Linked DNA regions of Homo sapiens: all the other regions are linked to region 1. Evidence: promoter capture Hi-C in 16 types of primary human blood cells and fetal thymus (Javierre and others, 2016). All regions are on one chromosome and are shown on one strand. Each heading gives the region's core, a stretch centred on a gene start or on the middle of the fragment in contact. The rest is flanking DNA. Distances are from core to core; before and after follow the strand shown. Region 1 holds the start of STK35 (serine/threonine kinase 35). Region 2 holds the start of SNRPB (small nuclear ribonucleoprotein polypeptides B and B1). Region 3 has its middle 94 kb from the start of SIRPA. Region 4 has its middle 110 kb from the start of SIRPG.

The links. The method cuts DNA at HindIII sites, captures the fragments that hold promoters and counts their contacts. A CHiCAGO score of 5 or more calls a contact.
Region 2: the fragment with the promoter of SNRPB here is called in contact with the fragment with the promoter of STK35 in region 1 in 7 of 17 cell types (erythroblasts, total B cells, activated CD4 T cells and 4 more); the score reaches 8.2 in erythroblasts.
Region 3: a fragment that was not itself captured here is called in contact with the fragment with the promoter of STK35 in region 1 in 2 of 17 cell types (naive B cells and total B cells); the score reaches 9.7 in naive B cells.
Region 4: a contact is called between a fragment that was not itself captured here and the fragment with the promoter of STK35 in region 1, in 1 of 17 cell types (M2 macrophages). The highest score is 5.3, in M2 macrophages.

What each region holds. Positions count from the first base shown.
Region 1 is chr20:2,098,933-2,105,289 of GRCh38, reverse strand. STK35 (serine/threonine kinase 35) reads right to left here and starts at 3,463. Exons shown (of 4, transcript NM_080836.4): 1 at 3,115-3,463; 2 at 1,925-2,522. The coding sequence starts at 3,408. RefSeq lists silencers at 2,048-2,097, 2,118-2,647, 2,938-2,987, 2,998-3,287, 3,388-3,577 and an enhancer at 1,734-2,702. The HindIII fragment of the contact is 3,640 bases long and covers 2,797-6,357 here.
Region 2 is chr20:2,468,227-2,475,303 of GRCh38, reverse strand. It overlaps SNRPB (small nuclear ribonucleoprotein polypeptides B and B1), which reads left to right and starts at 4,515. Exons shown (of 7, transcript NM_003091.4): 1 at 4,515-4,616. The coding sequence starts at 4,614. RefSeq lists enhancers at 4,506-4,555, 4,566-4,615, 4,776-4,895. The HindIII fragment of the contact is 1,844 bases long and covers 4,087-5,930 here.
Region 3 is chr20:1,798,689-1,804,911 of GRCh38, reverse strand. No RefSeq gene overlaps it. Among named protein-coding and RNA genes, the nearest start is that of SIRPA, 94 kb to the left of the region's middle. RefSeq lists a silencer at 1,291-1,540. The HindIII fragment of the contact is 2,718 bases long and covers 441-3,158 here.
Region 4 is chr20:1,762,580-1,768,774 of GRCh38, reverse strand. No RefSeq gene overlaps it. Among named protein-coding and RNA genes, the nearest start is that of SIRPG, 110 kb to the right of the region's middle. The HindIII fragment of the contact is 697 bases long and covers 4,335-5,031 here.

The sequences.
Region 1 (6,357 bases), core at 2,214-4,713:
CAGACCATTCATTGGCAGTAAAGGAGAAGACTAAGAGAAGTCTGAGAATAGAAAGACTTCAAAGTAAGTGATGCGCTCCTAGAATATAGGTAAGATAAACGAATCCCCTAGGGAGTCTTTTTTTTTTTTTTTTGAGACAGGGTCTTGCTCAGTCGCCCAGGTTATAGTGCCATTGCATGATAATGGCTCACTGTAGCCTCAACCTCCCAGGCTCAACTGATCCTCCTGCCTCTGCCTCTCAAGTAGCTGGGACTATAAGCCTGTGCCATCAGGTCCGGCTATTTTTTTTTCTATTTTTTGTGGAGACCAGGGTCTCACTTTGTTGCCCAGGCTGTTCCCAAACTCCTGGGCTCAAGCCATCCTCCCACCTCAGCCTCCCAAAGTGCTGGGATTACAGTCGTGAGCCATTGTGCCCTGCTGGAAGTCTTTTCAAAACAAAAACACTCACCCTGGGGAGAGGGTAGGCTTCTCAGAATGGATGGGGCACGGATGGACTTTATAAAGTTAGACATCTAATTAAAGGACTCTAGGTGATACTGATTCATGTTTCCAACTCCACTGTCAAACAACTGACTTGCAATGGGACAAAGCGTTCTCTTGGGAAAGACTTGGGGGATCTTTAAGTTGTGCAAAAGTAACAAGATTTTGGGAAACCACCCCCTCCAAACTCACCCCAAATCCTACCCACTCTTAAAAAAGTTCATCCTCAGGGTGCAGAGAACAGCATTACGCCTTCGAAAGGATCCAGGCCTCGAATCAAGACAGATCTGGGATCCCCGTCACTTAAGCTCTGAGAAATGTAAGGAAACCAGGAGTACAGTCTAACTTCCCTTTCAAGCGGATTAACCCTGATCAAGTTATTTGTTCACTTCTAAGCCTTAGTTTATTTATAGAAAAAGGATAGAATTTACTTTTGAAGTTATTACCTAAAAATTACTTCAGCACTGAGACCACAGCTGGGACTCGGATTAGTAAACTTTCTTCCCCTGGATCCTCCTGCCTCGGAAAGTCTCCTCAAACTTTCTACCGCCTCTCTCCTCTCCAAGCAGACACTTAGCTACTGGTAGTATGAAAAAGGCTTGTGAGTACTGAGTAGTTAGGATGAATACATTCCCTAACTGCAGTTAAAACCCGGAAACTAAGATAATTAGTTCCTCCAGGACTGCAAGACCTCTTGCCTCAATGTACCCCATTTTCCTTTTAAGTAAAACCACTTCCCAGCCAGCCTCTGAGGTTAAGAAAAAGATTAAGAATGTAAAACGGAGGGAAAAGATGCCGGATGCTTTGTTATGTGACAGCTCTCAGGCCACCTGTGAGGGTTGTCAGCCTGCACCCCTCAGAGGACCAAGCCAGAAGACAGTCAGTTTGCTCGGCTGCCTGGGATGAAGGGCCGGGGGCCTCAGAGGAAAAGGCAGACGAGGAAGCCACAGGAGTTTGGGGGTTGGAGCTGGAGGGTGTCAGGAAACTTGGAACCAGACAGGGAGAGGGTGTGGGTGGGTCCAGTCAAGTTTTTTCTTTTTGTTTGTTTTGGGAGGGAAAGAGAGAGGCCCTCGGGGGTGAGGAGGCTCCGCAGTTCTGCTACTAACTGAACCCGACCCCTCCTCCACTCCCCCAACCGATCTTAAAAATAGAAGACGTTTAATAACCATAGCTCGCAATTCTTGAGCACTTATTAAGTTAATGGTTAGCACTTAAACGAGCTCTTGTTATGGAAACACCAGCCAACTTTAGGCCCAGGGACTGATCTTAGGACCTGAGAAGAGAGGGCCGAATGCCTGGGCCCAGGAAAGGAGGGTGTGTCAGGGCACAGGGTGACAGGGACCAGGTCTGAGGCCTAGGAAGGCCAGGAACAGTGTGGGCCAAGCCGTCCGGAGAGCAGGGGGTCCAGGCCCTGCGTGGGTGGAAAGGCCCGCGGTGCTCCTACCTTTCAGCGAGGTCTCCACCAGGCGCAGGTAAAGCTGCGAGCTCTTGTTGCCGTGACTCATGCGCTGGGCTAACCCATTGCGCTGCAGGACGCACTCCTCAAACTGCACGACGTTCTGGTGGCGCCGCTTGAGGCTGGTGAGGGCCCAGAATTCAGCCAGCGCCAGCTCCACGTTCTCGGGGGCGTCGCAGCGGATCTTCTTGACCGCCACCCGGGCCCCGCTGCGCCCGGCCACTGCCTCATAAACCACGCCGTAGCTGCCGCGCCCGATCTCCGCCAACAGGCTGTAACGCGGCCGCGCGGACCCGCCACCGCCCTCAGGCCGTCGCCGCGCCAGGAAGGCCTCGCCCGGGGCCTCGGCCGCCACCGGATCCATGGCCCGGGCCGCCGCCGCCGGCCTCAGCTTCGTGCTGGGCGCCCGCGGCACTGGGCTTCGCCTTTTCCGCTCCGGGCTTTGTGTACCTCTGCGGGCGCCGTCCTTCCCCGTTTCCATGGCTGCGGGCGGCGGGGGGAGCAGCAACGGCGCTGCCCGGGCCCCCCCTGCCTCATCCCTCCGTCCGGCCCTGGGACGCGGAGGAGCCGGACCTTGGATTGTGACCTGCGGGCGAAAGAATCGGTTAAACGGCCAGGCCAAGGCGGGGAGGCCAGGAGCGTAGGCCGCGGGGCGTCCCACCTCCTCCTCCCCCGGCCGCCGCGGCCCCTTTAAGACGGAAGCCACCGCCGCTGATTGAACGGGGGAGGGGAGGGGAAAGCGGGAAAGACCGAACCACTGGGCAGCAGCTCAGAGGGGGAACCGGAAAGAAAAGCACAAACTCTCCGCTCTCTCTGTTAGCTTGTCATGTAGCGATAGGAAAAAGAAGAGCCAGCAAGCTTCACGCCTTCTGAAAACCGCTTAGAGACGCGATTTGGCCGGCGGAAATATTTTTCTTTGCTTGGCCCCCTCTGTGACGCTCCTCCCCGCGCCCCGCCTTGTGTTCGCCCGGGTGTAAACAGTCCATTGAATTAAGCCCTAGCGGAGCCCAGCGGACCGACCCAAGTCCCCGAGGGCGACGGGTAGAAGGGATTGGCTGAAAAGTTCGGCTTCTCGGAGTGCGACTGGCCGAGGACCCGATTTCCCTTCCCAAGCGCGGAGGCAGTGGCAGTAACTCCAGCCTCGGCGCTGGCCTTCAGTCCTCCAACGGCGCCCTTACCTGGCCCGCGCACCTCCACTTCCGGGCGGCCCGTTTCCCCCCTGGAGCCCCTGCCTGGGGATGGTCCGCTCCGGGCCCGGGCTGCCTCCGGGACCGAGCAGCGCGGGAGGTGGCGGCCCGAGCCCGGCGTGTAGCGGATCCTTCTGCTGCCGCGGCGCTCGCTGGGGAAGCCTGGGCTCCTAGGCTCCCGTGGCTTTCCACGTGTTCGCGCCAGCTGAGCCCTTTACATAACCTCTTTACATAAGCTGCACCTCCCGCCGGCGCCCGGGCCAGCGGAGACTCCTGGTGGCCCATCCCCCGGGACGCCAGCCGAGTGAGCCCTGCACCGCCCGGTCCTGCAAAGGTCGACGGAGCAGCCGCAGCCGAGCGCACCGGCACGCCTTGCCGGGACCCAATCACTGGCGAGAACACCCAGCCAACAAAAAATAGGCGCGAAATTCCCGTGATCCGCGGCGGGCTCCGGGTCTCCGCAGCGGCCCGCGCATCACTATCCCTTCTCGCCTGATCTGCGTGAAGACCAACCGTCCGCAGTAGGCGCCTAATAAATACTGACTGGGTGATTGTCTTGGTCGTTTGATTCATAGCTCTGTCCTGGGAACCTCAGGGACTGGGTTGGAATCCCGACCTTCCCTTCTACCAGCCCAGTGATCTTGTGCAAATCATTGACCCACCCTGAGCATCCGTTTATCTAATGATCCTCTGCAAAATGGATAGAATGGGCTTTAATTCCCAGGAATGATAGACCCAAATGAAATACCTAGATGGAGGCTAATTGGGTGTGGGGCTGTTAGTACCCAAAGCTCCCATTTAGGCACAGATTTTTGAATATTTTGTTCTGTATTTTGTATTCCAGTGTAGGCCTAGTGGGTGCCCAGTGTTTGTTAACTGAATCTACAGATGTTTATTGAACACCCGTAATGTGCTAGGCACCATTCCAAGTCGCTGGGGAAAGAGCAATAGACAAGGCAGTTTCTGCCTTGGTTGAGGTTCTGTGCCACTGCAGGAGACAAACCACATGGGTGGCCTTGGGCAAGTTAGTCAACCTTCTTGTGTATTTGTTCCTTACCTGTAAGAAGATCCACAGAGGTTATACAGGTAAAGCACTTAGGACAGCCTTGCACACAATGTTAAGTATTATTAAATAAATGCACAGGATAATTTTTGCCAGTGGTAAGTGTGATGGAGAAAAAGAATGAGCTAAAGAGTGCTCACTGGATACAGGCCATTTCTTATAATGTATTTGGTCGCTGAAAACCTCTTAACTTTTTTGTGATTAAATTTCAAATTTACACATAAATTTCAAGAATCGTAAAGATCATATACTTTTCCACTAGAATAACAAATTGTTATATTTTGCTGCATATCCATATCCTCTCGTGTATGTGTATATATACACACAAATACATATTGTGTGTGGATATCTATATGGTATATACCCCAAAAGAAAGGAAATCAGTATACGGTATATAGATATTCACACACACACATATATAATGTATATATTCTTTTTTACTACATCATTTTAGAGTTTCCAACATCAAACTCCTTTATCCTAAATATATGTGTGTGTTTCCTTAAAAAAAAGACATTATCTGGCATAATCTCAGTACAGTGGTCAAAAATCAGGAATTTTAACAATGATACAATTGTTTTATTTAATACACTCCATCCATATTTAAATTTTGCTAATGGTCCCAATAATGTCCTTTATAGCTATTCCCCAGGATCCAATTCAGGATCAGACGTTGCACTGAGTTGTCATGCCTCTTTAGTTTCTTTTAATCTGGAAGGGCAGTTAGTTATCCAGCCTTTCTTTGTCTTTCATGACCTTGACATTTTTGAAGAATACTGGCGAGTTATATTGTAGAATGTCCCTAAATTTTTATTCATCTGTGTTTTCTTATTAGTTTCAGAGTATCCATTTTTCTCTCCTCCCCCACCCCCCACCAACCCATCCCTTGCTATTCTGAGAGGGTATGCATTTTTTGGCAGGACTACTGCTGAAAAAAGTTGCCTCCTCAGGGCCTTTCATCAGGAGGCACATGGCATTGTGTTTGTCCCAGTATTCGTGGTGTTAACTTCCATCATTTGGTTGAGGTGGTGTAGGAGTAGTTACACTCTACCATAAAGTTACGATTTTTCCTTCTGTAACTATTAAGTATTCTGTGGGAAGATATTTTGAGACTATTTAAATATCCTCTTCTTTAGACTCTTACCCACTGGTTTCAGAATTCATGGTGATTCTTGCTTGAAACAATTATTACAGTTGCAAAATGGTGATCAGAAGGTCTTTTTAACCATAACCTTTTTTCTATTTCTGTGAAGAATGTCATTGGTATTTTGATAGGGATTGCATTGACTCTTTAGATTGCTTTGGGTAGTATGGACATTTTAACCAATGTTGATTCTTCCTATCCATGAACATGAAATATCTTTCCATTTTTTGTGTGTCCTCTTCAATTTCTTTAATCAGTGTTTTATAGTTTTCATTATAGAGATCTTTCATTTCTTTAAATTAATTCCTAGGTATTTTTATTTATGGCTATTGTAAATGGGATTACTTTTTAAATTTCTTTTTCAGATTGTTCACTGTTAACATATAGAAATGCTACTGATTTTTGTATGTTGATTTTGTATCCTGCAACTGTACGGAATTTGTTTATCAGTTCTAACAGTTTTTTGGTGGAGTCTTTAGGTTTTTCCAAATATAAGATATAATATGCAAACAAGGATAATTTAACTTTTTCCTTTCCTATTTGGATGCCCTTTATTTCTTTCTCTTGCCTGATTGCTCTAGCTAGTACTTCTAGTACTTCTAGTACTGTGTTGAATAACAGTGGTGAAAGTGGGCATCCTTGTTGTATTCCAGATCTTAAAGGCTTTCAGTTTTTCCCCATTCAGTATGGTACTAGCTGTGGGTTTGTCATATATGGCTTTTATTATGTGGGGGTATTTTCCTTCTATTCCCAGTTTTTTTTAGGGTTTTTATCATGAAACCATGTTGAATTTTATCAAATGCTTTTTCAGCATCAATTGAAATGATAGTATGGTTTTTGTCCTTCATTCCGACAGCCTTATTTTATCTTAATTACCTCTTTAAAGACCTTATCTTCAAATATAGGCACATTCTAAGGTACTGGGAATTATAACTTCAACATGAATTTGGAGTGAGGAGGGACACAATTCAGTCCATAATAGCCTCTTTGGCATTTGACATTTGAATTGAAACCTGAATGTCAAGAA
Region 2 (7,077 bases), core at 3,266-5,765, 370 kb before region 1:
TTGCTGATCACATGTTTTTGTGTGGCCTTGAGCCACACAAAATGTAAATGGTCTTTACATTTACATTTACACAAAATGTAAATGGTCTTTACATTTTAAATGGTCGCAAAGAATTTAAAGGATAATAATATTTTGTGACATCTATTTGTATCCATAAATAACATTTTATTGGAACCCAGCCACACTCATTTGCTAGGTATTGAGTATAGCTGCTTCCATGGTACATGGTAAAGTTGAGTAATTGCAACAGAGACCAAATGGCTCGATAGCCCTAAAATGCTCTCTGCCCTTAACAAAAAAAATATTGGAAACTAACCAGTCTTATACATATTTTAAAAAAGTTTGCCCGCCCCTGATCTAGACTGAAACTTGGGACCATTTTATCAAGTAAATACCAGATGAATTGCCTGTTTAATCCCCGGCTCTGAATTCATGACCTCTTTTCCCTTATTTGTAGATTGGCAAACTAATTGAGTTGCAAGGCATCTAGAATAGCCAAAACAACCTTGAAAAAGAAAAAGGAGGAGGATTCACACTTTTTCTGACTTCATATAGATCAAAGGAATAGAATTGGAAGTCCAGAAATAAAACCATGTGTCAATGGTCAAATGATTTTCCACTAGGGTGCCAAGATTATTCAGTGGGGGAAAGAAGAGTCTTTTTAACAAATGATGCTGAGCTAACTGTATATCTACTTAGAAAAGAATACAGTTTGACCCTACCTTATACCATATATAAAATATGAACTAAAAATATATCAAAAATCTAAATGTAAGAGCTAAAACTATAAAACTATTAGAAGAAAACAAAGGGGTAAATCTTCATAATCTTAGATTTGGCAGAAAAGATTTTTCTTATTGCACCAAAAACATGAGCAACAACAACAACAAAAAGATAAATTAGACTTCATCCAAATTAAAAAACTTTTGTACAGGATATTACCAAGAAAGTGAAAAGGCCAGGCATGGTGGCTCATGCCCGTAATCCCAGCAGTTTGGGAGGCTGAAGTGGGTGGATTGCTTGAATCCAGCTTGGGCAACGTGGTGAAACCCTGTCTCTACAAAAAAAAAAAAAAATAACAAAAATTAGCCACCGTGGTGGCATGCATCTGTAGTCCCAGCTACTCGGAAGGCTGAGGTGGGAGAATCGCTTGAGCATTGGAGGTCAGGCTGCAGTGAGCTGTGATCGCACCACTGCACTGCAGCCTGGGTGATGGGGTGAGACTCTGTCTCAAAAAAAAAAAAAAAAAAAAAAACTCACAGAATGGGAGAAAACCTGTATAAATCATATATCTGACAAGGAACTTGTATCTGTAATGTAGAAAGAATTCTTACAACTCAATAATAAAAGTCAAATGGTCCAATTAAAAAATGAGAAAAGGATCTGAATGGGCATTTCTCCAAGGATGATATATAAATGGCCAACAAGCACATGAAAAGATGTTCAACATCATTAGTCATGAGGGAAATGCAAATCAAAACCACGATGAAATTGATAGCACTTCACATTAAGATGGCTTGAATCAAAAAGTCAGATAATAACAAATATGGGTGAAGATGTGGAGAAATCAGAACCCTCATACGCCACTTGTGGGAATGTATCATGGTGAAGCCACTTTGGAAAACAGTCTGGCAGTTCTTCAAATGGTTAATCAGAATTATCATATGACTCAGAAATTCCACTCCTATCTGGATACCAAAGAGGAATGAAAGCATGTCCACGTGAAGACTTGTACACGATGTTTACAGCAGCATTATTTATAACAGCCAAAAGGTGGAAGCAATCCAAATGTTCGTCATTTGATGAACTGATAAAATATGGTAGTTCCCTCCTTATCTGAGGAGGTTATATTCCAAGATCACCAGTGGATTCATGGAACGGCAGATACTACCAAACCCTATATATACTATTTTCTCTTATACATACATAGCTATGATAAAGTTTAATTTATAAATTAGGTACAGTAAGAGATTAACAATACTAATAGAACAGTTATAAAAATATACTGTAATAAAAGTTATATGAATGTGGTCTCAAAATATCTTGTACTGTACTCACCTATTTTTATACTGCAGTTGATTGTGGGTAACTGAAACCACAGAAAGTGAAAGATGGATATGGGGGGACTACTGTACATCCATACAATGGAATGTTATTTGGCCATAAAAAGGAATGGAGTATTGATACGTGTCATGACATGGATGAGCCTTAAAAACATTGTGCTAAGTGAAAGAAGGTAGTCACAAAAGACCACGTATTATTATATGATTCCCTTTATATACATTTTCTAGAATGTCCTTCATAATATTCATCCTTCTGATAGACCTGAGTGTAGGTTCAGGTCTCTGCTCACATACCACTCCTCAGAGAAGTTTCCCCTGACCACCTAGCCAAAACTGTACCCTATCCCTCTCAGTTCCTCTGCCTTTATTTATTTTTTTCATATCACTCTAATGTTACATTGCATACTTATTTATTTGGTTTACTATGTCTTTCTCAGTAGGATGTAAAGCTCCGTGAGGGAAAGGACTCTATCCCAATAATGGTGCATGGCCTTAGTAGATGCTAAATAAAAATGATTTTAAATGCATGCATGAATGAAGTGTTAGGCAGCTGGGTAAGGTGGGGGCAAATGAACAGCTGAGGAGCCAGACGGACCTATATTCCCACTCTGACTCCGCCACTTTGGGCAACATAATTCATTTCTATGAGGCTTCGCCTCTTCATCTACAGGTGACAGGAAACGGGACAACAGAACACACCCTTTAGAGATGGTGTGAAGATGGCAAAGCACCAAGGTGGAAGCTCTCCTTGCTGGGTTTGAGGAACAGCAAGGAGATTAGTGTGACTGGAGAAGGATGAATGAGGGCAATGTTGACGGAGATGAATGAGGTTGGAGAGGAGCGCAGAGCTAGATTTTATTCCATGTGTGCTGGGAAGTTTTTGGTAAGTGGAGACCAGGACATGACATCATCTGATATCCCAGTACGTTTAGAAGGATCCCTCTGGCTGCCGTGAGAACAAGAAAGGAAGCAAAGAGACAAGTTACGGGCTCGTTCAATGATCCAAGACAGAGACGATGGTGGCTATGACTAGAGTGGACGCAATGGAGTGGGTGACAACAATCATATTCAAGATAATTTGAAGGTGGGGGCCACAGGATTTGCTGATGAATTTGATTATTCGATGGCAGAGAAAGAGAAGAATGAAATATGCTTCAAATTTGTCATTTTCTTTTTTTTCTTTTTTAATCCAAGAAACTTCGGGGATGGGGAACACTGGTGAAGTGGTTTTAGAAACAGTGAATAGAATCAAGAATTCAGTTTTCAACATGTTAAATTTGGTATACCTATTAGACATTCACATCACGCTGGCAGCTGGATATAAAGGGCCAAGAGTTAAATGAAGAGACCAAGGTTAGAGGAACAAACTTGAAAGCCTTGGGTGTATATGCTGTATTTAAAAGTCATAGGAAGGGCCCAGTGTGATGGTTCACGCCTGTAATTCCAGCACTTTGGGAGGCCAAAGTGGGTGGATCAGGAGTTCGAGACCAGGAGTTGAGGTCAGGAGTTCGAGACCAGCCTGGCCAACATGGCAAAACCCCGTCTCTACTAAAAATACAAAAATTAGCCGAGTGTGGTGGCACAGGCCTGTATTCCCAGCTACTCGGGAGGCTGAGGCAGGAGAATCGCTTGAACCGGGGAGGCAGAGGTTGCAGTGAGCCGAGATTGTGCCACTGCACTCCAGCCTTGGTGACAGACTGAGACTCTGTCTCAAAAGAAAAAAAAAAGTCATAGAAAAAAAATAAATGTCATACGACTGGATGCGATTATCAGCAAATATGGGTAGAGCCCTTATTTTGTGCTAAAGTGTTCTAGGCACTACAGCAATGAGTAATACACAAAGAGAAAAATTCACACCCTTATGGATCTTACATTCTAATGGGGAGGGGATAATAAAATAACTAACAAAAATATACAGCGTGTTAGATAGCAAGAGGGAAATACAGGAGAGATGAGGATGAGGTGGGTGGGAAGGTTACAGGATGGCTAGGGAAATCCTCACTGGGAAAATGTTATTTAAGCTTAAACCTTGAAAGAGGTGAGGGCAGCAGCCTTCTGGTATACCTTGGGGACTACCATTCCAGGCAGAGGCGAAAGCAAATGCAGAGGGGCTGAAAAAGGAGCACGTCCAGCCAGTGGAGGGAAAAGCAAGAATAGTGACTGTAGAGGAGAGAGCCGGGGAGGGTGATGGGAAATGAGGACCGAGAGGTTAATGGGAAAGGCGGGGTGAAGAGAAATGAGTGTGACACAGAGCAGCTCTCAGTACGGATTTAAGCTAGGAAGGTGTCCAAACAGGAACTTAAGGCTCTCCTTACGTCAAAGCCGGATGTTAACGCCCAGTCCCCAGGCCCCGCCTCTGCTCGGCAGAAGCTCCGCTCCGGGGCCGGAACTCCAGGGCTAGTGAGCTGGACCGGAAGTAGGTTTCTACCCGACCGCATTTTACGTGGTGCTGCATTTCCGGTAGCGGCGGCGGGAAATCGGCTGTGGGAGAGAGGCTAGGCCTCTGAGGAGGCGAATCCGGCGGGTATCAGAGCCATCAGAACCGCCACCATGGTAAGGAGGGCACAGGCTGGCGGCGCGGGAGCTTCCGAGTCTGTTGTGGAGTGGGAACCGCGACTGATCGGGGAGGAAGCCGTGGGTTGGAGCCACTTAGGGCGGTGAAGGCCTGGGCCGAGGCCGCTCGGTCTGGGCGGGAAAGACCAGGACCTTGGCGGTTCGGCTAGGCATGGGGTCGAGGAAAAGGTTGGAACCGGTGTCGGAGGCCGAGGTCGCTCGGCAGGGGCGAGGGTAGAACCGCGGCTCTCGACACCGCTGTAGCCATAATTCCTGGGACCCAGTAGGCACTAAGTTAACTTTTGCCGAATAAATATATGTCCCGGGCTTCGGAGCAGGCACTGGAGCCGCAGGGGGACCCGGTAAAAGGCTCAGACTTGCGGAAGTTTGTGAGTCTGAGAAAGAGTTGGCGGAAGTGGGTGGAAGGGGCTCGTGGACCACGCTAGAGTCTCGCTAGGTCTGCTGGATGGAGAGGAGGGCGGAGGAGGGTGATGGCGAATGGAGGAAGAGCTCCACTCAGTTGCTCATCACGTTTCCGTGTTTGCCTGTGCCTGACTTCTCAGGCGCTGGGGCTACTCTCTGAAATATGTTTGCTTCCTTCACAGAGGTAGCTGGGGACACATAATATAATTCAGTGTGGTCATTCGGTAAAAGTAACGGCAGCGGGGCGGGGTAAGAATGTTTTCTCAAATAGATGGTTCCTGAGCAGATTCCTAAAAGATTAGCAAGAATGTTCCCGGCGAAAATGGGGGGAATATTACAGACCCGGAGAACTGAAGGAACAAAGGCTGAAGGGTAACAAGATTTAAAAAGTTACTGGATTTTTCTGCGTTTGTTGACTGAGAAAAAGTTGCTGGAGGAGAAAGGAAGAAAGAAGGGAAGACGGGAAGAATTGGCAGGAGGCTAGTTACTAAAGGCCTTGCATGTTAATTTTACCTCAGTGGTGGTGAGGCATGTCATTGAAGGATTTAATTTAATTTATTTTTATTTTTTTGAGACGGAGTTTTGCTTTTGTTGCCCAGGCTGGAGTGCGGTGGATCGATCAGGGTTCACTGCAAACTCCACCTCCCGGGTTCAAGCGATTCTCCTGCCTCAGCCTCCCAAGTAGCTGGGATTGTAGGTACCCGCCACCACACTTGGCTAATTTTTTGTATTTTTAGTAGAGACGGGGTTTCACCATGTTGGCCAGACTGGTCTCGAACTCCTGACCTCAGTTAATCCACCCACCTTGGCCTCCCAAAGTGCTGGGATTACAGCCGTGAGCCACCACACCCTGCCCACTGAAGGATTTTAACCAGCAAAATGACATAAGCTTAGTGGTGTTTAGAAAGATTGCTCTAGCTCTGGCATGTATATTCGATGGGACTGGAAGCAGGGAAACCTGGTAGGATATTGTTTGGATAACTGGTTAGAATAGGCGCTGGATTCATTTTGTCTAGGTTCCAACACAGCTTCCCAGCTGTGAAACTGGGCAAGTTACTTAACCTCTCCTAGCCTCAGTGACCTCATCTGTAAAATAGGGATAATAATGGGCCCAATTTTGGGGATTAAATGAGATGTACTGTGCTTATCACAGTGCCAGATACACAGTGAGCACCCAGTAAACATTAGTTGAGCTGGACCAGTGAATGTTGCCCTAAAGGTTCAGATCCCTTGTGGTTAGAAGCTGGTTAAAATGGTCATTGAATGGAAACTGAACCACCTAACCTGAGGGAGGCTCGCAGTATCTTTGTGTGGAGTCAAGTTTTGTTTTTGTTTTTTTGAGATGGAGTCTTTCCCTGTCACCCAGGCTGGAGTGCAGTGGCATGATCTCAGTTCACTGCAGCCTCCACCTCCCAGGTTCAAGCGATTCTCCCATCTCAGTCTCCCGAGTAGCTGGGATTACAGGCACCTGCCACCACGTGTGGCTAATTTTTGTAATTTTAGTAGAGACGGGGCTTCGCCATGTTAGCCAGGCTGGTCTTGAACTCCTGACCTAAGGTGTTCTGCCCACCTCGGCCTCCCAAAATGCCGGGATTGCAGGAGTGAGCCACTGAGCCCGGCCATGGAGTCAAGGTTTTGATCTGCATATTTGCAGGTTCAGAACTTTGTTGTCTGAGCTCACAGAGATGAACAGATGTCCATAGAAGGCACTTGGTGGGTTAGGACTTGGGTATAGCAGTCAGACTGATGGGAGGATGATATACAGATCAAATGCCAGGTGATTTGTTTATAGAGAGAAATACAACTGCTTAGGGTACCTGACAGTTCACAAAGTGATACCTATATAGTCACTTCTTTATTTTAGCACATTGGAACCCAGGTTATGAAAGCAGAAATGTTTGTTGGGTTAAAGACCATTATATGTCCAAACTGGTTAGCACCCTAACCATCAGAAGTTTCCCTCTGCCAAATATAGTCTTGGAGGCACACTAACAAATTCTTGATATGTGGATTTCATTTTTCACCTTGAAGCTGATCT
Region 3 (6,223 bases), core at 550-3,049, 300 kb after region 1:
AGGAAGGGCACCCACCCTCTGGTCCAACTCCATCCACGCAACTCCTTCAGTGGCCATAACAACACAACTTCCCATCACACCTAGAATAAAAGTCCAGCTCCTTGCCGAGACCTGCAAAGCCTGCTACCCCCAGCTGCTGACCATCTCCAGTCTCCTTACTACTGCTCACTGAGTTCCATCCTTATGTTCATGAAACCCCACATCTACTCTCCCACCTCAAGGCCTTTGCCCTTGCTGTTTTCTCTGCTGGACACGCCCAGCTCTTTGCATGGCTAGTTCCTCTCACTGTGCAGGCCTCAGCTTACTCTCTTGCACAGAGACGTCCATTGACATCCTTTTAGGAGCAGCTCCTGTCTAGCCCCAGCTCTCTCTTGGGCGTGTCACCACTTTACATCCTTCCTAGTACAGCCAAAACTGGTGTAATGGAGTGTGCAAAAGCTTCCACTTGGGGCTGGACTGGCTGGGTCGAAACCCAGGCTGGGCCCAATATTCTCAAGTGCCGAGCCTACCTACTGCGCACTTGAGGCTATTGTTCAACCTGGTTCCCCACATATCGTGCAACCTGTTGTTTCTCCACCTATCGTGCAACCTGTTTCTCCACATATTGTTCAACTTCCTATTTCCCTTCAATAGATTATTCAACCAGCATTTTCCTATCTGTACAAGGGAGTGAGGATTACATGACCTAATGTGCATATAGCATAGAGCAGAGCCTGGCATAAGCGCTGCATTGGTGTTTGCTACGATATTAACACTTGTTGCTATTTGAAATTATTTTGTCTGTATGTTTCTTGTTTATTTCCCTCTTCTCTCTGACAGGCAAACTCCCCACAACAGCCTCCTCAACGCTGCCTCCCACAGTGCTTGGACAAAATAATTACAGCAAGATGCGGGCACTGAGCTGACTCCTTATGTAGGACATCCCAGTGCAGGTAGAGAAACTGAGGGACAGTTGGAGGTTCCTTGCCCTTGGTGATGCGGTGAGAGGGCCTGCAGGCACCAGCCCGGCCGCCCGCACCGCTTCTCGCGGACCCCAGCGGAGCCGCGCTTCTCGTGCCGCTCCTGAGGGTTTCCGCGGCGCCGGCGTTTTTGTTCCCGGCGCGTTTAAGTCGTTGAGGCCGAATCAAGCGAAGGCGGAAAAGCGGCGCGCAGCCCGCGTCAGCTGCAGTTCCGTCCCCCTGGTTCCCGGTGCGCTAACAAAGGCATTTGCATGAAAACAGGAACCCCGTCTGCAGAAAGGACTCGTTGGCGGGGTGCATCGTGCGCTCCAGTGCCCCTACCGCGGCGCCCCGCTCCCCAGGTGGGGAAGAAGCGGGGTGCGGGGACTGGCCCCAAACACGGCTCGGCCGGCGGGGACCGGCACGCTGCGGCCCGGGCGACCCCCTTCTCCGCCCCTTTCCCAGGCCGGCGGAAACGGCCGTCTCGGGCGTGGGCGCGCTTCTGCGGACTCCTCGGGACCTTTTACCCAGGCGTGCGGCCGGGGCGCCCGGGGCCTCGGGGAGCCGGCGCCAGCGTGCGGAGCGCAGCGGAGCGGAGGGAGCGGCGGGAGCGGCGTCCGTGGCTGGTCCAGGTCTGGGGCGCAGCCTCCAGGCTCGCCCTGCGCCGCTCTGGGCCTCGGCCTCTTCGCCTGTTCGACCGGGGCGCAAGCGTGTCACAGCGCCTGTCTGCAGGGGGAAGCGGGCTTCCCAGAGGGGCGCGTGGCTCGCAGAGGGGCTCCGGGAATATCCGCTCCGTTGGCCCTTTCCAGAGCTTTTCCTTAGCTGCTTCTCCTTTGAAATCCGCCTTTTTCCCAGCAGCCCTTGGAGGCAGGATAAATTAAGTGGTAAAAGCAGAGGATTAGGAACCGGGAACCCTGGATTCAAATCCTGCCCGCCGCTGACCAGCTTTGTAACCATGAGCAGGTTACTCCGCCTCTGGAGGCCTCAGCTTCCCCGTCTGTAAAATGGGGCCTAACACAGTCCAGAAAGTGCTTAGTGCCGCAGTGTCACACACCGAGTGCTTAATTCATTCTTAAAATTATCACTTCCAGCTGTGGGACAGGCGCAGGGTAGAAAGGGGTTTTCTTAAGGTCACAGGCGGGGTCAAAGGCAAACCCTCCGGGTCCTCACAAGTAAGACTTGCGAAGCAGCAAGTTCCCCAAAGGGTCTTATCCAGCCGGGTAAGGAGCGCCGGGGCATCTCCCCCCTCTCTCTCCGCGAAGACGCACAAGCAATGGCTGGCGAACCTACTGCCTGGAATGGGGTTCTTGGGTCGAGACCTTTAAAAAAATAAAGAAGAGGAAGAAGAAAGAAAGAAAACAAACAAACATGCACGCAAAAACGGAATGCCAGAGCCTTTGATCTAGGAGCCAGCTTGCTATTCAGGGCCGACCACCGTCTCGCCGCAGTTCCTCCCCGGGAAGGAAGCCTCGCGCTGCCCTCCGGTGGCAGGCGAGGTAGTGTCGCCTGGGCGCAACTCACAAGCAGGGGTTTACCGGAGAAGCCAGCTTCGCTCTGCGCGGGTGGGGGCTGTGGGGGAGAGAGGAGGGAAAATCGGAATTGTTCCCTGACTGCTGTTTTTTGGTCCCGGTGGATCTTGGGAGTCTTGGAAAGAGAATAATAAGGCTCTCTGCATTTGAAAGGCATAGGAGTTTTTACATTCTGGTTTTATTTATTTTTGAATGGATAACACATTTACACGATTCAAAAGATAAAAAAGAGGATAGCGTGAAAAGGAAGTCTCGCTTCCACTCTTGTTCCCCAGGCACCCAGTTCCCCTTCCTAGAGACAGCCATTGTTACATGTTTCTGTGTACCCACCCGGAGACAGTCCATGCAAATGCAAGTATTTTACAGGATCAATAGTAGCTTGCTCTGTATACTCTTCTGCCTCTTGCTGCTTCGCTTAAAAATGCATCATGGAGTTTGTTCCATGTTGATTCACATAGGGCTGCCTCGTTCTTTTGAACAGCTGCATAATATTCCATTGTTTGGCTCTCCTGTAATTATTTGATCAGTGTTCTATTGATGAGCCTTGAGGCTGCTTCTAATCTTCTGTAATCACAGTGTGTTACAACAAATAAGCACCTACATGCATTGTTATGCCTAGGTGCCAGTGAGGCACATAGCTATTGCGGTATAACAAACCACTCCGAAATTCAGTGGCTTTAAATAGAAAGCTTTTGGTATTGCTCATGTGGGTCAGCTGGGTAGCACTGCTGATCTGGGCCAAGCTCAGCTAACTTTGCATTTGCTCCTTGTGTCTGGGATCAGAAAGGGTGGGTCAGCTGGGGCTGGTTTATTTAGGATGGTCTAAATCACATGTCTGGTAGTTGACTGGCTATCAGCTAGGGTTAGAGGGGTGTTCAGGCTATGTGTCCGTCAACATCTGATAACATGCAGTGCCTCCTGAGACTGTATAACTGGTGTGAATTTACATCCATTACATTCTGTTGGTGCAAACATGTCACAAGCCAGCCCAGATTCAAGAGGTGGGGAAATAGAAATCACTTCTCCCAGGGAGGAGCAGCAAAGTCACACGGCAGAGTATGATGCAAGGGCCCTGAGGTATTGTGGCCATTTAAAAATATATTTATAATGTTATAGTTAGCATTATGGTGATAACATTACCTTTGGATATAAACATTACCTTTGCCATTACCTGACAGACGTTACCTCAAGCCTCAAGGCTCATCAACAGAAGACTGATCAAATAATTAACAACAATAATAATTAACAACAACAATAATTTCAACAGAAGACTGATCAAATAATTAACTAGGCCATCAGGGTTGACATTAAGTGATATTGATATTGATAGCATATTCTCTTGATATAACTTTTTGAGAATGACACTGTACCTCTGTGGTTTTCCTCCCCCAAACCAGTCTAATAATAACCCCAGTCTAATAATGAGAATAGCCTCACAGAATAGCCGCTATGCACAGCCTCCACTTAAGGGATGGGGAGTTATGCTTCACTTCCTTGAGGGGGCAGTATGTAATAAGTTATTTGGAATTCTTCTGCTACTGGTTTATTCAGTCATTTATTCTATCCGTGTGCACTCATGGATATTTATTTTGTACTTTTCATTATAATCCAATACTATGTTATTTATATTGTTGCTTAAATTGTTCCAGTTTTGGCGCCTGGGAGCTCTCTCTATTGGCTCCTGTTTCCCTTTGCCATAATTTTTTGTTATGTTTTTGAGCCCTTCCTTACTTTCTGGCACTAAAGCTGCTCCAGACTCATCTTGCATATTTTCTTCCCAGCCCTAGAATCAGCCGTTTCTCCAGGGAGCCCGGTTCCTTTCACTGGAGAATGTTCTTAGAAACAGATCTGGATGGTGGGTTTGCATGTTGCTATTGGGGACCCACTACCAGGGGGCAGAGCTAGGAAATACATGTATGTATCCTAGCCCGTGTATTCACATAACTGTAATGATTCTGTATCTATCATTGGTATCTATATTAAGTTAAACATGAGCTCATGCTACCGTCTCTGACTCTAACACATTCATACAGTTCATTCTATCCTTCTCCCTTTGCTTATCTATAACCTCCCACTTCAGCAGTGAAAAACCTGGCTCCTACCATCTGCCATCCATTTACTTAATTGTTCAATGTTAGTACACATGTACTGGGGTTTCAGAATTGTCAAACCATACCCCTGTGAGACACAGCTCTACCAACTGGAGGGCAGTGCTTATGGACAGCTCTTTTCATCTTGAGTCTTCTTGTTTCCAGTCATTTCCAAAGTTGTTTAGGTCAGCACCTCTAGTCTCCATGCCCTTCAATGAGATCCCTCGTACGTTTGTAATACAATTAGATTCTGTTGCCATCATCTGCATTTTATCCTGTGATTCCCCATCCTCCTAGTAGATTTTTAAAAATTGGCATACATTAAGGTTTACTTTTTTTTTTTTTTTTTTTGAGATGTAGTTTCCCTCTTGTTGCAAGGTCGCGCAATGGCGCAATCTTGGCTCACCGGAACCTCCGCCTCCCGGGTTCAAGCGATTCTCCTCCTCAGCCGCCCGAGTAGCTGGGATTGCAGGCATGCACCACCACACCCAGCTAATTTTGTATTTTTAGTAGAGATGGGGTTTCTCCATGTTGGTCAGGCTGCTCTCGAACTCCCGACCTCAGGTGATCCACTTGCCTCGGCCTCCCAAAGTGCTGGGATTACAGGTGTGAGCCACCGCGCCCGGCCAAGGTTTACTTTTTGTGCTGTAAAATTCTATGGTTTTGACAAATGCATAGTGACAAATGGATAGTGTAGGACCTCTTTATATGTTCTAGATATCAAGCCCTTAGCAGATATATCAATCACTACAGTACCACACAGAATAGTTTCATGGCTGTAAAATATCCACTGTGCTTCACTTAGCCACCTGTCTCCTTCTTCTCAGTCCTCTGGCAACCACTGATCTATTTCCCATCTCTATCATTTGCTTTTTTAAAGAAATCATATAAACGGAATTATCATATATATATATACGTATATGTATATATGTATATACACACGCACACACACACACACACACACACACATATATATATATATAAAACATTTGGAAACTGGCTTCTTTCATTTAGCAATATGCACTTAAGATTCATCCATATTGTTGTGTGAATTAACAGTTCCTTTTATCTCCGAATAATGTTCCATAGTATGACTGTTCCACTGTTTGTTTATCCATTCACCTATTAAAGGACATCTTAGTTGCATCTGGCTTTATTATGAATAAAGCTGCTATAAACATTGTGTGCAGGTTTTTGTGTAGACATAAGATTCCTTATCAGTTGAGTAAATACCTAGGGACATAATTTCTAGATTGTATGGTAAATCAATGTTTAACTTTATAAGAAACTGCCAAACTTCCAAACCGTACTTCCAAAGTACCATTTTTCATTCCCACTAGCAATGAGTGACAGTTTCTGTTGCTCTGCATCTTCATCAGCACTGGTATTGCCAGTTGGTTGTAATTTAGCTATTTTTATAGGTGTGTAGTAGTTGTTTTAATTTGCATTTCTATAATGACGAATGATCATTTCTTCAAATGCTTATTTGCCATTTGTATACATTCTTTGGTGAGATGTCTGTTCATATCTTGTGCCCATTTTTTAATGTAGATGTTTGCTTTCTTATTGTTGAGTTTTAGACATTGTTTGCATATTCTGGATATGATCTTTGGGATGGTTAATTTTATGTGTCAACTTCTCTGGGCTATCACAAGGGATGCCCAGA
Region 4 (6,195 bases), core at 3,434-5,933, 340 kb after region 1:
GAGGCGAGCTTGAGTGCACATAAAACCTGCTTGCATGATGTCTGCTCCAATGATAGAACAGCCTCTTCCACTTGATTCTTGCACAGGCACTTCACCCCTGTGTGCTTCAGTCTGTTCATCTGTAGATAGTGTCTAATAAATGTTCCTAATTCATTGTCTTTATGAAGATTAAATGAATTAATACATGTAAACTTTACGTATGGTCTATAATAAATGTCAGCTATTGATACCTATTATTTGAATTCAGGTAAGATTATTTTAAAATTTAGTTTCCAGTAGTTACAACTTTGGAAACTTAGGCAACTGAGTCCATTACCTTCCCATAACCTCAGTTTACTCATCTAGAAAATGGTCCTAATGATACCAAACTCTTAAGATGGTAGCAAAGTTATATTAAATGACCACAGGCCTTCGGGACATGGAGCTGATTATATTATACTTAGGTTTGTGCCTCTAAAGCCTTGCACAGTGGCTGCTATGTGTCAGATATTCAAATCAGCATTTGAGCCAAATTCAAGGTGAGGCTTACAGGTCAAGGTCAACTCTTATTTCCAAGAGAGGACTAAATGTGGAGAGAAGACATGGGTTTGGAATCAGAATCAGGTGCAACCTGCAAGCTCTAGAACTTCTTGACTACATGACCTCAGAGAGGGCTTTTAAACTCACAGAGCCTCCACGTGACGGCTCCTTCTATCCTTTGGCATTGAGGCCCAGAGATGCCTGCCCTTGTCTTTGTGGTTTTCCTCCTGGGCCTCAGGGTGCTGCTGGTGATGAGTTTCACAGTGACCTACATCTGCAGGAGGTGGAACCTGTGACAGGTGAACATAGGATAGGCTTTAGTCTTCGGTACTGGGTGACAGGCTGGCAAGAGGCCTACAGGGCAAGCCCAACAAAGTCACTGGGGCCCTCAAGAGTGATCCAGCCTCAAGGGAAGGTTGGGAACACTCTTTATTTTCTCCAAATGTTTTTTGCGATTCCTAGAGTCTTTCAGATCCGTGCATTGTGTAGTGCCCTGGAGGTGGAAAGGTTTCAAATTCCATTCTTTGGGACCCTGGAGATGGGAGGAGGGGGTCCAAGGTGTGGTAGTGGTATGAATGTTGAGACCCAAACTCCAGAGTCCCCCAATACACTGTTACATGTTTCAGTTTTCATATGATATATTTTGGGGATGCATAAGGAAAGTATTGCTAAAATCAATGAATAGAACCTATTCAAGGGACTTGGAGGTTCTGACTAGTGGCAAAGATGAATGTGGGTATGGGAGAGAGTTTAGAACCCAGAAAGTGGCATTGGGGTGTAATGAGTAGGGGCTTTATTTCTGATCTGTGCCACGAATCCAGACTAAGCAGAATACCTGCCATATAGTAGGTGCTCAATAAATATTTGTGAAATTAATACATGAATAAACAAACACATGAATGAATGATTTTTTTTTCTCTACAGCCCCTGCATGCCCTGTGATACATTACCTCCAGCCCTCTCCAAGGGGTTCAAGTGGGGAGAGGCTGCAAGGACTTATAGGTCACTAAAGACCCCTTTATTCCGTCCCTGCCACCCCCATCGCGGACACGCTCCCTTCCGCACACCCTCCTGGTGTTCCTTCCCTCAGAGCTTTGGAGCTGAGTCAGGGACGAGTTTTCTTCATGAGGACTCCAGGGATGTCTTGACCCTGATGTACTGAGCTTCAGATTGGCCCTGCTTCCAACCAAGAGAATTAAACTGCTCAAGAAAAGAAGTTTCCATTCTGCCCCTGGTCATGAACAATCCTTAATTTTCAGAGCAGTTTTTACTTTTGTGCGGGGCTTTTGAAAATATGATTTCATTTTAACACACATATATTTTGAAATCACTGGGAAGTTGCATAAGCATTTTTCTCTTCTGAAATGTACAGAAAAAATACAAACAATACCCATGGACCTAACATCCTATCTTTTAAAAACAGTAACATTTGCCATTATGATCTTCAGTTCTTTAAAAACAAAAAACAAAAAACAAAACACTGTTCTGAATTTATCATTCTCAAGCATGGTTTTATAACTTTATAACATATGTATGAATCCTTAAGCAATGTATAGTATTACTTTTCATATTTTAACATTATATAGATGCTTTGACACTGTACACAGCAATCTGGAACTTTATTTTTTATGCTTAACACAGTTTGTGAGGTTTATTTCTGTTGATATATGGAGCTACATTTTATTAATTTTCCACTGTTCTGTGGTCTTCTATTGTAAGAATATGCCACAATTTATCAATTCTTCTCAAGACAGATTTTGAAGCTTCATTCAGTGTTTTGCTAGTACAACTTTGCAACAAACATTCTTTTATTTGTTTCCCTGGGCATGTGTGGGAGAGTCTGCCTTGTTCCTCTAGCTTGGTGCACAAAGCTGCAGTATTGGTATGATTTGGGAGCTTTTGTTACACAAAAAAAATTTCCAATTGTTGCTTAAGTTTTACTCTTTCCATTTATCCCTTTCATCTCGCTATATATATATATATATATATATATATATATATATATATACACACACACATATATATACACATATATATATACACATATATATACACATATATATATACACATATATATACACATATATGTATACACATATATATACACATATATGTATACACATATATATACACATATATGTATACACATATATATACACATATATATACACATATATATACACATATATATACACATATATATACACATATTATATACACATATATATACACATATATACACATATATATACACATATATATATACACATATATATATACACATATATATATATACACATATATATATAATATTTTTGAATGTTTATTGCATTTTTTAAATAGATACCTTTTAGGAAGTTAAAGAGTTAAGGAGTTTTCCTTTCTTCTATTCCGATATTAATGTATTTTAAAATCAAACAAAAGCAAAAGAAATCATCACCAGCAGACTTGAATTATAAGAAATACTAGTGGACACCCTTCAGGCACAAAGAAAATGACACCAGATGTAAATCTGGATCCATACACAAGAATGAAGAACAGAAAAAGTAAATAGATGCATAAATTTAAAAGACATTTAAACAAAATCTATAGATGATAAGTGAATGTTTAAAGCTAAAAATAATAACGCAGTGTGGATATTATGATAATAACGCATTAATATCATATAATACCTGATACAATGGCACAAAGGCTGGGAGAGGGAATTGGATGTACACAGCCAGAGTATTCCTATATTATACATACAGTGGTATAAATATTGGGGCTTCTTTTTCAGGATCACTGTATATTTTTATATTTTTTCATGTTGTCTTTTATGTCATTTACAAACAGCTTTGTTTTTAATATAAACCTTGTGCACTTTTATTAAATTTATCTTTTTAAGACTTAAATGTAAGATCTGGAACTATAAAAAGAAGAAAACTTGGGAAAAGCTCTTCTGGACACTGGCTGAGACAGAGACGGAGTCTCACTCCATCGCCCAGGCTGGGGTGCAGTGGCACGATCTAGGTTCACTGCAACCTCCGCCTCCCAGGTTCTAGTAATTCTCCTGCCTCAGCCTCCCAAAGAGCTGGGATTACAGGCGCACACCATCACATCTTGTTATATTTTTCTGCTGGTGTGTGTGCACACGTGTGTGTATGCATTATAGATGGTAGGAATCTTATTTTTTTATAGATGATAGGAATCTTATCTTTTCTCTGGAAGGATTAATTATCCAGCACCCCCTGATATCCACTGCCAGCTTTGCTATATAGCGAGTGTCTATAGATCTGTGGTTCCTTCGATGAGCTCTGTGTTCCACTGATCTACTTGTCTAGCTCTCTGTCAATACAGGCAAATTAAATTGTGCTTCACTTTATTGCACTTCACAGACACTGCGTTTTTCACAAATTGACGGTTTGTGGCAACCCTGCATTGAGCAAGTCTATTGGTGCCATGTTTCCAACAGCATGTGCCCACTCCGTGTCTCTGTCACATTTTGGTAATTCTTGCAATATTTCAAATTTTAATAATTATTATATCTGATCTGAGGATCTGTGATTAGTGTAATGGTCTTGTGGCTCCGCGAACCGTGTCCTTATGAAACAGCACACTTGATGGAAAATGTCTTGTGTGTTCTGACTGCTCCACCTACTGGCCGTTCCCCCGTCTTGCTCCCTCTCCTCAGGCCTCCCTACTTAGCCTGAGGCACAGGGAGAGGCATTGGCCTGAAATTAGGCCAATTAATAACCCTGCAACGGCCTCTAAGTGCTCAAGTGAAAGCGAGAGTTGCAAATCGCTCACTTTAAATCAAATCTAGAAATGATGAAGCTTAGTAAAAAAAGGCTTGCCCAAAGCTGAGACAGGCTGAAAGCTAGGCTTCTTGCACCAGACACTCAGCCAGCTGTGAATGCCAAGGAAAAGTTTTTGAAGGAGATTAAAAATACTACTCCAGTGAGCACATGACTGATAAGAAAGCAACACAGTCTTATTGCTGATAAGGAGAAAATTTTAGTGGTCTCGAGAGATGATCAAACTAGCCACAACATTCCCCTGCAATATCTCCGAGGTATGCTTGTGCCTGGCCTAGCATAGCTCCACAGTAAGTTTTGATATCTTTTGGGCAAGTCATCTCACCTTTTCTTATCCAAAATTGTTGTGACTATTCTTGGCTTAAATGCATTTTAGACTCACTTTATCAACTTTCATGAAAAATCCTTTTAGATTTATTAATTGATTCCATGGAATTCATATATTATTTTGGAGACATTTACATTTTTCCAGTATTGAGACTTCCCATTTATGGGCATGGTATACCTCTATTTATTTAGGTTTTCTTTTATGAAGTTCAGTTTACAATTTTACAGTTTTTTTCTCTATAATGGTCTTTTGCATCGTTAGTTAGAGACGCCTTTAATATATTCTAGTTTATGGAATCTTTAAAATTTATTATTACTTTTTTCAGTGGTTGTTGACTACTGAATAGGATTGCAATTGAGTTTTGAACATCAATCTTAGAGCTGGAAAGCTTATGAAATTCTCTTACTAGTGCTAATAGTATGGATATTCTTTTTATATATAACTTTTTTTTTTTTTTTTTTTTTTTTTTTTTTTTTTAAGATGGAGTCTCACTTTGTTGCCCAGGCTGGAGTGCAGTGGTGTGATCTTGGCTCACTGCAACCTCTGCCTCCCAGGCTCAAGCGATTCTCCTGTCTCAGCCTCCCAAGTAGTTGGGATTACAGGCGCATGCCACCATGCCAGGAGACAGGGTTCCACTGTGTTGACCAGGCTGGTCTCAAACTCCTGACCTCTAGTGATCCACCATCCTCACCTCCCAAAGTGCTGGGATTACAGGTGTAAGCCACCCCACCTGGCCTTTGTGTGTAACTCCTATAACATTCGTGTAATGATCTAAATTAGTGTTTATCTTTCTCAAAGTTACATGTACACACTAAGAGTCAAATAAATAGTTATATAAGTTTTACATATAAAAATTGGAGTCTCCCTAACATCCAACCATATTCTATCTCCCAGAAGCAACTATTCTCAATTTTTAATAGATTATCTTAGACTTTTACTGCCATATCTCATATAACATGTTCATATTGCCACTTCTTCATTTTTCAGTATTAGGCGTTACTTTTGACTTCCCACAATTACAGATGGTAATATAATGCTCCACCATTGCTGACTTAATGCCACACGTGAACACTTTCTATTCCCCATCAACTGAATATGATTATATCATAATTTGGGATAATTTAAGAGTCGATGTCTATATTGTAATAAGTGTTTGAATATTCTTACTTTCTTTTTTTTTTTTTTTTTTTGAGATGGGGTCTCACTCTGTCGCCCAGGCTAGCGTGCAATGGTGCAATTTTGGCTCACTGCAATCTCTGCCCCCTGGGTTCAAGCAATTCTCCTGCCTCAGCCTCCCTAGTAGCTGGAATTACAGGTGTGCACCACCACGGCTGGCTAATTTTTGTATTTTTAGTAGAGACAGAGTTTCACCATGTTGGCCAGGCTGGTCTCGAACTCCTGACCTCAATTGATCCACCCACCTCAGCCTCCCAAAGTGCTGGGATTACAGACATGAACCTCCCCACCCGGCTGAACATTATTTCCAGCTGGGTCTGGTAATATTCCTAGCTTTTGCTTATGTTCAGTCTCTCCTGTGTATGTTTGTGTAATCAC